Linked DNA regions of Homo sapiens: region 1 is linked to region 2. Evidence: promoter capture Hi-C in 16 types of primary human blood cells and fetal thymus (Javierre and others, 2016). All regions are on one chromosome and are shown on one strand. The core of a region is centred on a gene start or on the middle of the fragment in contact, and the rest is flanking DNA. Distances in the headings are between cores, read along the strand shown.

What was found. The method cuts DNA at HindIII sites, captures the fragments that hold promoters and counts their contacts. A CHiCAGO score of 5 or more calls a contact.
Region 1: a contact is called between a fragment that was not itself captured here and the fragment with the promoter of KIF16B in region 2, in 1 of 17 cell types (total CD4 T cells). The highest score is 5.3, in total CD4 T cells.

What each region holds. Positions count from the first base shown.
Region 1 is chr20:13,775,824-13,781,146 of GRCh38, forward strand. It overlaps ESF1 (ESF1 nucleolar pre-rRNA processing protein), which reads right to left. Exons shown (of 14, transcript NM_001276380.2): 3 at 50-447. Among named protein-coding and RNA genes, the nearest start is that of ESF1, 6.4 kb to the right of the region's middle. The HindIII fragment of the contact is 2,588 bases long and covers 1-2,544 here.
Region 2 is chr20:16,572,198-16,577,028 of GRCh38, forward strand. It overlaps KIF16B (kinesin family member 16B), which reads right to left and starts at 1,251. Exons shown (of 26, transcript NM_024704.5): 1 at 1,032-1,251. The coding sequence starts at 1,078. LOC124904875 (a long non-coding RNA gene) reads left to right here and starts at 3,106. Exons shown (of 2, transcript XR_007067539.1): 1 at 3,106-3,530. RefSeq lists an enhancer at 1,008-1,529 and silencers at 1,142-1,371, 1,158-1,287. The HindIII fragment of the contact is 9,174 bases long and covers 1-4,831 here.

The DNA of each region.
Region 1 (5,323 bases), core at 1-2,500, 2.8 Mb before region 2:
TGCTTGTACTGTGTTTTTCACAAATAATCTTGTTTATTCAAAAGGTTACCTCATCAGCACGAGGAGCATCTTTATCTAATTCTCTCCAAGCATGCTCAAAACCAGATTCTTCTGGAAACAAATCTGCCGTATCATCTTCATCTTCAGAACTAGTTTCTATATTTCCTTTACCCCTTGCAAGATCAGGGCCACTGTCACTTTTATCATCATCCTCACTATCCTCATCTTCATCCTCCTCTTCATCTTCATCCTCCTCTTCATCATCTTCACTTCCATCGTCATCACCTGAAGCTCTACCAACACTTGTAATTTCATTTTCAGATTCCTCATCACTTCCTATTTCACTAACGCTTTCTGAATCTTCCTCCAGAGCATCTTTGTCACACATTTCACCATCTGTTGAGTTTTCATAACCATCACTGTCTCTTGTCATTATGAGTTGAACCACTGCAAAATGTTAAAGGGGAAAGAAATTAAGAAAAGATATATGCTGAATTAAACTGAATCCAAATTATCTTGACATCAACTCCAGTAAAAATATAATTTCTATGAAACACAGTAAAGACAAATATATATTCAGTAAATGCTTAGTCAATTTTTATGATAGAAATCCTAACCATAACTTCTATGAAACAGAGTAAAGGAAAATACACTTAACCAAGTTATTTAATGGAAATCCTAACACATGCTCACATCACGCAAGTAGATCCAGACATTCATTCAATACTTAACAGTGTGCCTGCTACGTGCTAAGTGCTCAATATACAACAGTTGGTAAAAGAGAAGCAAACAGTGCTCTCAGTGAAACTTCTAGCTGAGTGAAAAGAATACATGGATATCAAATAAAATCAATATATAGGAAAAGTTAAAATCACAACTAAGATATCCCAGAAAGAATGTTTTCTAAGGGGATTTAATGGGGTCCCTAAGTGAGTGATAACTGAGCTGTTACTTGAAGGATGAACAGGAGTTAAATAGTCAAAGTTAGACTAATAGATGGAAATTTGTTTGAAAGAGCAAGGAAGGTACCTGTAAAAATCTGCCAATAGGAAAAAGCCAACCATCATGTCCAGATCACAGATAGCACAGAATCAAGTAACAAATGGAAATGAAGAGTTAAGTAGAGGCCAAGCTATCAAAAAACCATATAGAGAGCTTGGACTTTTTCATAAAAGCAATGGGAAGACACTGCTGTTTTCAAAAAAGAGGATGTCATCTTCTTTTGGATATTGTCATCCTCAGACTTGCATATTGAGGAGATCACCTTGACTATACTGTAGAAAACTGACTTGGGAAAGTAAAGAACAGATGTGAATATAGTAAAGGTAGTACAGTACAAAAAGCAAGAAATGAAGGTAGCACTAAGTTGGGTGGCAGTATGTATGCAGAGATGTACATGGATTTCAGAGTCAGTCAGGAAGTGAAACCAATAATTACCGACTGGAGATTTGACACGGGGACTGGGAGTTTTGGAAGTGTCAAAGATGAGTCATAGCTTCTTAGCTTTCAGAGCTAGTTAGCTAAGAAGATGGAAAGATGAAAAGGGAACACTGGAAATGAACTAGTTTGTTTGGTGGAGGGAAATCATGAGTTCAGTTTTGAATATGTTGAATACGAAGTGCCACTCAGTCATCTAAAAGAAAGTATCAATAATAAGAGTGTACAGCTCAGAGAAGTCTGGGTTGGAGATCAGTGACTCATTCATACGCAGTTGACAACAGAAGCTGTGATGTGGATGAGATCACCTATAAAGACAGAGAAATAATATTTATACTTTTTCTGCCAGGTCTTGAACTTTGTAATCAACTGTCATGATTAGCAATACACCAAGATTGAAAGACTGTTTTTGCTTAAGATGGAAATTTTAGTCCTCACAACTCTGAAAGGGCTCATTTCCTACTTCTAAAGCAATCACAGGCTTCTATCTACTTGGTGTGTAGATATATCTTACGTGTTTTACTCATCTTTAAGTTGGAGCTTATTTTCTGCTTACAGGCTCTAAGTTTGGAAAATTAAAAGCAAATTTAAAAGTTCAAGATTTAGAATGAAATTGGAACTAATTTTCTCTTGGTCCTATAATCTTATAATAGTTATTCACTGACCAAATATTTACTGAGTATCTACTACATACAAAGAATTGAGCTAGGATAAGGGAAAAGAGAGAAGATTTGTAACACGATCTCATGCTCTTGATGGATTCATAAATAAAAGGTAACCATTTACTGATTTATAAATCTATGTTCTCAATCACCATACAGTGAGAGACATCTAAATTTGCCTGCAGAGAGGTATTTATAAAAAGGCTTCACAAAGATACAACTTGACTTGAGACTAACTGAATGAAAAGGCATCTTGTTAGAAGGAAAAGCAGGAAATGGGCTTTTATGTTACCACCACAACGAAGCAGGGATTAATAAAAATAACTAGCCAATAGAAGTGAAAAGCGCCAAAATGAAAGCATTGTCACAGGTTCTATATATGAGATCTGAAAAACACAACATTGAAAGTTACTATGAGGTAAGCAGAATTTACTTTTAAGCAACAAGCTTAGAAATAACATCTTACAGACCCAGTCTATCTAGTATTGCAATATTTCTCAACTGTCAGTCATTATACCATTTTCATGATTTTTGAATATCATTTTTTTATTAAATTGAATTTTTTAAAAGTTAGTTTTGCTCTAAACAATATTCCTAAAGTCACAGAAGTGATAGGGTAATTACATTGTTTTCTAAGATGTTGACACAGTACATAACTATTAATATTTTAGAAGTTTGAGTATCATCAAAAATCTTCTCACTTATGACAATGGTACACATACCACACTTTGGGTTATATAATAATAAAGTGTTGCATAAGAGACTTAAAGAGGTCTTCCATTTCAATGTTTTTAACAATATCAACTGCATTCAGAGTATTTATTCATTCAATAAGTATCTGCAGCCGAGCACAGCTGCTCACGCCTGTAATCCCATCATATTAGGAGGCCAAGATGGGAGGATCTTGAGCCCAGGAGTTTGAGACAAGCCTGGGCAACATGGCAAAACTCTTTGTCTCTACAAAAATACAAAAATTAGCTAGGCATGGTGGGGTGCACCTGTGGTCCCAGTGACTCGGAAGGCTGAGGTGGGAGAATCACCTGGGCCCAGGAAGTTGCGGCTGCAGTGAGCTGTGATTGCACCACTGCACTCCAGCCTGGGCAGCAGAGCGAGACCCTGTCTCCAAAAATAAAAATAAAAAACCCCAAAAAGTATCTGCTTAGAGCCCACAATGTACACAGCCTTGTGCAAGATAATGTGGGGTTACACAAATATAAATGTCTCTATTCCTAGACAGTATTGCTCTAGTAGTGACTGTAAACATTACTACTTATCCAGCTACTTCAAACAAAAAACAAAAAAAAACCAAAAAAACTGCTTTACCATTTTCCCCCAATTATAAACATAATGAATGATCATTACAAACCAAAAAAAGTTAGGAAAATATGGTTAATAAATAAAACAAAGGTGACTAGCAGTAATTTTTCATTCAAAGATAACTGGTTATTTTAGTATACAACCATATCCCTAAATTTCTTTTCTTTAATTTAAATACTAATTTGTTTAAAATAACTGGTCATATCGTTATTTTGGAACCTATTTTTAAAACTTCATAGATCACAGATGTTTGCATATATTTAATTAATCTCTTAATGATTTGTTACCATTTTAATTTCTATTTTCATTTTTTGAGACAAGGTCTTGCTCTGTTGCCCAGGCTGGAGTGCAGTGGCACGATCTTGGCTCACTGCAACCTCTACCTCCTGGGTTCAAGTGATTCTCGTGCCTCAGCCTCCCAAGTAGCTGGGATTACAGGTGTGCACCACTATGCCCAGCTAATTTTTGTATTTTTAGTAGAGACCGGGTTTTGCCATGTTGGCTAGGCTGGTCTCAAACTCCTGACCTCAAGCAATCCACCCGCCTCGGTCTCCCAAAGTGCTGGGATTATAAAGGTGAGCCACTGTGCCCAGCCAGTTACCGTTTTATTTTAAAAATAATGCTGCAATGCACATTCTTTGCACACATCCAATTATTTATGTAAAATAGATTCTGAGGAGTGCAAGTGCTGGGCATGAACATTTCATGATGACAAATATCACACTGCAAGTCCTCACATCACCTTTACTTCACAGCACTTAAAAAGGCCCTTGCACACAGTAATTGCTGTAATAACTGATGAATGGATAATGAACAGAAGATTATATATGGAGCCGTGTAATCCTTATTTATGAGTAATGCCTTTCCTAGACTGTGGAACCAACAAAATTACTGCAAGCAATGTGGTGGGGTAGAAGGAGTCAGAAGACTTGAGTTGCAGTTCCAGGTCTGCATGTCCTTACATAAGTCACTTTAATCTTGTTCGCTGATACAGTCTTATTGCTCAAGGTAACTAAGAAAATTAAATGAGAAAAGATATGTAAAAAAGTCTGTAAAATCAATCTAAAGGATTATATAGCTATGTTATATTAATTCAGTGCCCCAAATGAAGTGGATGCTAGACTAACTTACCTCACTAATTCAGTGTCAAATCAACTTTGCTGCCGGTCCCACTCCAATCTTATTCTTCAATTTTAGTAACCGGATTCCTATCCTTTCTTCCCACACCTCAAGAGGTCTGCTGCCTGGTTCCACTACAAATGTAAAATGGGATACCACCACTGACTCCCTAGTCCTTGCTATCCAGAATTCACTCCACTGCCTGATACCTTCTACCCTCACAGTGTGATCTCTGCTTATCAAGACCTCTTGGCCTATCAAAACCTCTTGGCCTATCAAGAACTCTTGGGCTATCAAGACCTCTTGGCCTATCAAGACCTCTCGGCCTATCAAGACCCCTCCTTGGATCCTGTAATCACAGGTCTGGCTCATGTGAACTACTACTGGTTTTCAGTTACATCTTCAACTATCAGCAACATCAACACTCAAAATTGCTTGCTGCTGGAGGTGACAAAAAATTTTAATTAGTAAACACGTAATGCAAACTAGAGCCAGCTGTCTCTCACCTAGTTCCAAACAATCATTTCTCGCTGCTACTCATTTTGGCCCTTCAAGACCTTATTATCTAATCAAACGGGACTACTGACCTCTTCTGAACATGCCCAATCACATCTTTGCTCAAAAAGTTCTTTCCATGTAGCACACTCTGGTCCTCAAACTTAAATTTTTCCACACCCCAAAGTAGTGCGTCCCCTATGAATTTTTCTGATTACCACATCTTGAGTGACTTCTTCCTCCAGATTTCCATGGCTTTCTGCTAAACATCTTTTACGGCACTTACTATTATT
Region 2 (4,831 bases), core at 1-2,500:
ATGATTCCCTACTTGCCAAGAGAAGAAACAGATTTAGATGAGTCAAATAAGGTTCTGGAAATCTTTTGATTTTATGGCCTTCGGCTGCCCCAATCAGGCATCAGAACTACCAAACATTAACCTCCACAAGTTGATATGACAAAAGCAAAAAGGCCCTATGGTAAGTCAAATATCCACCAACTTGGTAGAGAAGTCAATAAAATCAAATGGCTCTGTGTGAACCTTGCCTGTCACCTTGGAGGACACATCCCATTTCTACCTCATTCTTTGAAGTCAAACCAATTTAAAAAGTAACTTTTCCAAAGAAACTTTCTAAACGGATTAAAAAGAGGTCATTGAAAAGGGAGCACAGGCTATTTTTCAGTGAATGAAGAGAAGGATTCTGAAAAAGCATTACTTCGTAGAAATATATAACAAGATTAAATTTTGTGTGTAACACTCTTCCTCTCTCTTAATATCAGAGTATTTCAAACACGTGTAAAGCGTCCCTGACTTTTTTCTAGGAGTCAGGACTTTGTCAAAGTTTTCCCATCCACTCTCTAACATGAAGTTAGGAACTGCTAAGTTATCGATTAGACATTCAGGGAATCAAAATCATCTCTAACTGAAAGATTAAAAAGTAGCATGGTTAATTGTTAAGAGAACTTCTGAGTTGGTAGAAATGAGGGGTTCACCTGACAGTTCGTGGTGCCCCCCCTCAGCACTCTCACCTTCCCCCCAACTATTTTACATCTTCATGGTAACGTTCCCTTGATGCTTTTTTAAAGGGGGAACAAGAACATCTCAAGTTAATACGATGGAGAGAGTTAATAGAATCTTCTCCTTTACCACCAGGGTCCTCTCCAGGGCAATGTGAACGGGACAGCAGTGCACGAAGTCCTCCAGGCCCCCAGAGGCCACAGCCTGGGCCCGGTGGGCCAGGGACCAGCCGGTGACACTTTTAAGTCCAGGCTGGCTTTGGGGGAGCTGGAAACAGGCTTCCTCTGGGTGGGGGCGCGACGAGGGGGCGGGGCGCGGGCGGCCCCACTCACCTGCGATTCATGGGCCGGACCCTCACGGCCACCTTGACCGATGCCATCGCTCATCCCGAACCAGCCCGCGCGGGGTCCCACTAGCCCAGAACTCCGCGGTCGCCGGCGACGCTGGCTACTCAGATCGCGGCTCCCGCCCACTTCCCTCTCGCCCCCGCCCCTCTGCTCCCGGCCGGACCTGGAGTTCCGCGGCAGCCCCACCTGCCAGGCCACTGAGCATGCCCAGAACGGCTCCGGCCCGCGTGATCCATGCGCCACGGTTTGGCGGCGGCCGGGCGGTGCAGAGGGGCGGGGCCGCGGGGCCTGGAAGCAGCCTCCGGGATCTGCAAGTCTGGAAAGGCCACGTTGTGGACCTTGGCGCAGAGGTTATGGGGGCGACCCGGAGCGGATGGTTTCAGGAAAACTAGAACCCACCCTCATGGCCTGAACAACTGGAGAGAAGAGGATCGCAGCAATTTAAAGCCAGCGGCAAGGATCACAGTCCTGGGGTCAGGTGACCAAAGCCAGTTTTTCAGCCCTTAACAAGAACCTGGCTTCACCCAGCCAAACATGAGTTAACGTATCCATTTTACACACGAACAAACTGAGGCGCAGAGATGATCACAGCTTGTTGGTGGCAAACTCCGCTAGGGCCTTCTCTGCTACCCTAAGGAGGTCCGACCGTATGTTTTGGACCCCTTAACTCGGGATACCGATAAACGAAAATTAATAGGGTGTTGGATGTTTTAAATGTGTGCGGGAATGTCATTATATTGGCTAGAATCAAACCTTATTTAGACTTGTTTTGCACTTTTGTACACTTTAGTAATTTTTAGTTTTAATCATAAGGGAGTTAAAGGCGAACACAACTGGTATTTTTTTTTTTTTTTTTTTTTTTTTGAGACAGGGTCTCGCTCGGTCACCCAGGCTGGAGTGTAATGCTGCGATCTCGGCTCACTGCAACGTCCGCCTCCCGGGTTCAAGAGATTCTCCTGCCTCAGCCTCCCGAATAGCTGGGCGTGCCACCACGCCCGGCTGATTTTTGTATTTTTAGTAGAGACGGGGTTTCACCATGTTGGCCAGGTTGGTCTCGAACTCCTGACCTCAAATGATCCGCCCGCCTTGGCCTCCCAGAATGCTGGGATTACAGGCGTGAGCCACCGCGCCAGGCCGACAACTGGTATCTTAAGGCTTAGGGCCTCTGGTAGAAGTGAGCTCCACCTCCCTTCCTGTGTAGAAGGTAAATGCATTCATTCATTCAGTGAATCGAGCATGCATGAAATCGTTTGCGCACACCCAGAAGCCCACCTGCGAGCCACAGGAGCAGCCATTCCAGGAAGCCAAGCTATAATGGGAGACGCAAGGAATGGAGGCGGAACTCCTGTTTTTAAGTCCTAGCTCCAACACTAGCCTTGTCAGCCTGTAATTCTGAATTACTGGGCGCCTCTGAGGCTTCTTGTCTCATCTGCAAATCAGGAACAACGGCATAGAGTGGTGAATGCATCAAGTGGGATGATGTCTGCAAGTACGCAACCCGCTTACACAAAGAATTATCTTTCCATAACCTTCCCTGGACCCCTAGGGCCAGCAGGGAATCATAGCCTCCCTTTGTTTCTAGAGCCCGGAAATCACTGGGTTTTCCCTCTGTCTGGAGCAGAGCTGGGTGCGAATTTGACCAACGGGTGGCAGGAACAGCCGGAGCAGGATATTAAGGAGCGGGCGAGCTTGCCAAGCATGCGCAGTAGCGGCGGGTTGGTTTGAGAAGCCGCCAGGGAGCCAGCGCGGCGACCTAGCTGGCTGGGGCAGGGGAGGGGCCCGCCTTATATGGGAGCTGCGTGGGGACAAACTGTTCGGGCCCAACGCGCGGGTCTGAGAGACAGCCACGCCTGCTCCGGGTCACTCCGGCCACCTGGGGGGCGTCGGCGCGCAGACTCTGGCCAGTTCAGTATTCAAACTCTTCAGGAGTGCTAACTTACTCATGACAGCGATTTTCTGTATCGGGGTTTCATTGGTCGGTGGTTTAGAAGGTTTTGCTCATTCATTCGTTAATGTAATTCCAACAACCTACACGTGTTTATAAGCCCCCTTTCCATCCACGACTTTGCTGTCTGACACAAAACGGACCATCGCAGCCCGGCAGACGCTTTAGACAACAAACAGCATGCCTGGAGCTTTTCAATAGGAAGCAGTAAGGCTTGATCATCACAGACGATACGGAACGGGCACTTTCTTAGCAGAAAATATTTCTATTGGGGCGTGAAGGAAGTTTCTGAAAGGGAAGATTATTATAAGATAAGGGGTTTGCTCATCTCAGACTTTAGTGTGCCTGCTTTAAAGTGTTTTGCAAACTTGAATGTTTAAAGGAATCACCTGGCGGTCTTGTGAAACTGCAGCTTCTAATGGGCAAGTCAGAGGGGAAGCCTGAGACATGGCATTTCCAGCACGTTCGGGGAGTGAAGATGCTGTCGGCTGCCACCCTCCCTGCAAGGAGCCAGGGGATAGATGACCTCTACGCAAACTGTGAGAGCTTAAAATAACTGATAGTGAAAAACAGTTACAGAAGCTCTAGGCCGGGCACGGTGGCTAATGCCTGTAATCCCAGCACTTTGGGAGGCCGAGGAGGATGGATTGCCAGAACTCAGGAGTTTGAGACCAGCCTGGGCAACACGGTAAAACCCTGTCTCTACGACAAAATAAAACAAACAAAAATAAAAGCCACGCATGGTGGCGTGTGCTTGTAGTCCCAGCTACTCAGGAGGCTCAGGTGGGACAATCGCTTGAGCATGGAAGGAGGAGGTTGCAGTGAGCCAAGATCGCACCACTGTACTCCAACCTGAGTGACAGAGTGAGACCCAATCTCAAAAAAAAAAAAAAGCAGTAAATCCAGGGCCCAAAAGGTCAGTAAGAATTCAGGGATCCAAATCAGTTATGTACTGATGCATAAAAATAATGGCCAAAAATGTGGAGGCTTAAAACAAAAACCGGTTATTATTTCTCTCAATTCTTTGGGTTGCTGGTGTCACCCGGGCTTTGTGGCTGGGCTCTAGGCTCACCTGGGGTGAGGAAAAGTTGGTGCATTTTGCTTTTTCATCCTCAAAAAGTTTAGACCAGGTTCCAGATTTCTTGCGGCGGCGAGACACCTCGCCAGGAGAGCACCGCACTATGCACAAGCCTTTGCTGGACTTCCATTGACCAAAGGCAGTCACATGGTCACGCCCAGGCAATGTGGGAGGGCCCCGCAAAGGAGGGGTGGGTACTCAAGAGAGCCACTAAATAACAAACCTACCTTAAGATCACATTTATTTCTAACATTTTAATAGTTATAGTTCAGTATAATTGATTTTCCTGGTAATCCCATTTATTTTATTTTATGCATTTTAAAATGTTATTCTGAAAATGTTACTCTCACCAAACAACCAAAAGGGTCCACGGCATAAAAAAGGTTTAAGAATCTATGATTTTAAAATTCAATTGGATGGATAAAAGACATTTTTATTTTTATTGTGTATATATACATATATATGTGTGTATATATATATATATATATATATATATATATATTTTTTTTTTTTTTTTTTTTTTTTTTTTTTTTTGAGACAGAGTTTTGCTCTTGTTGCCCAGGCTGGAGTGCAGTGGCGCGATCTCGGCTCACTGCAACCTCCACCTTCCGGTTTCAAGCGATTCTCCTGCCTCAGCCTCCTGAGTAGCTGGGATTACAGGTGCCCACCACCAAGCCCGGCTAATTTTTGTATTTTTAGTAGAGATGGGGGGTTTCACCATGTTGGACAGGCTGATCTCGAACTCCTGACCTCGTGATCCAC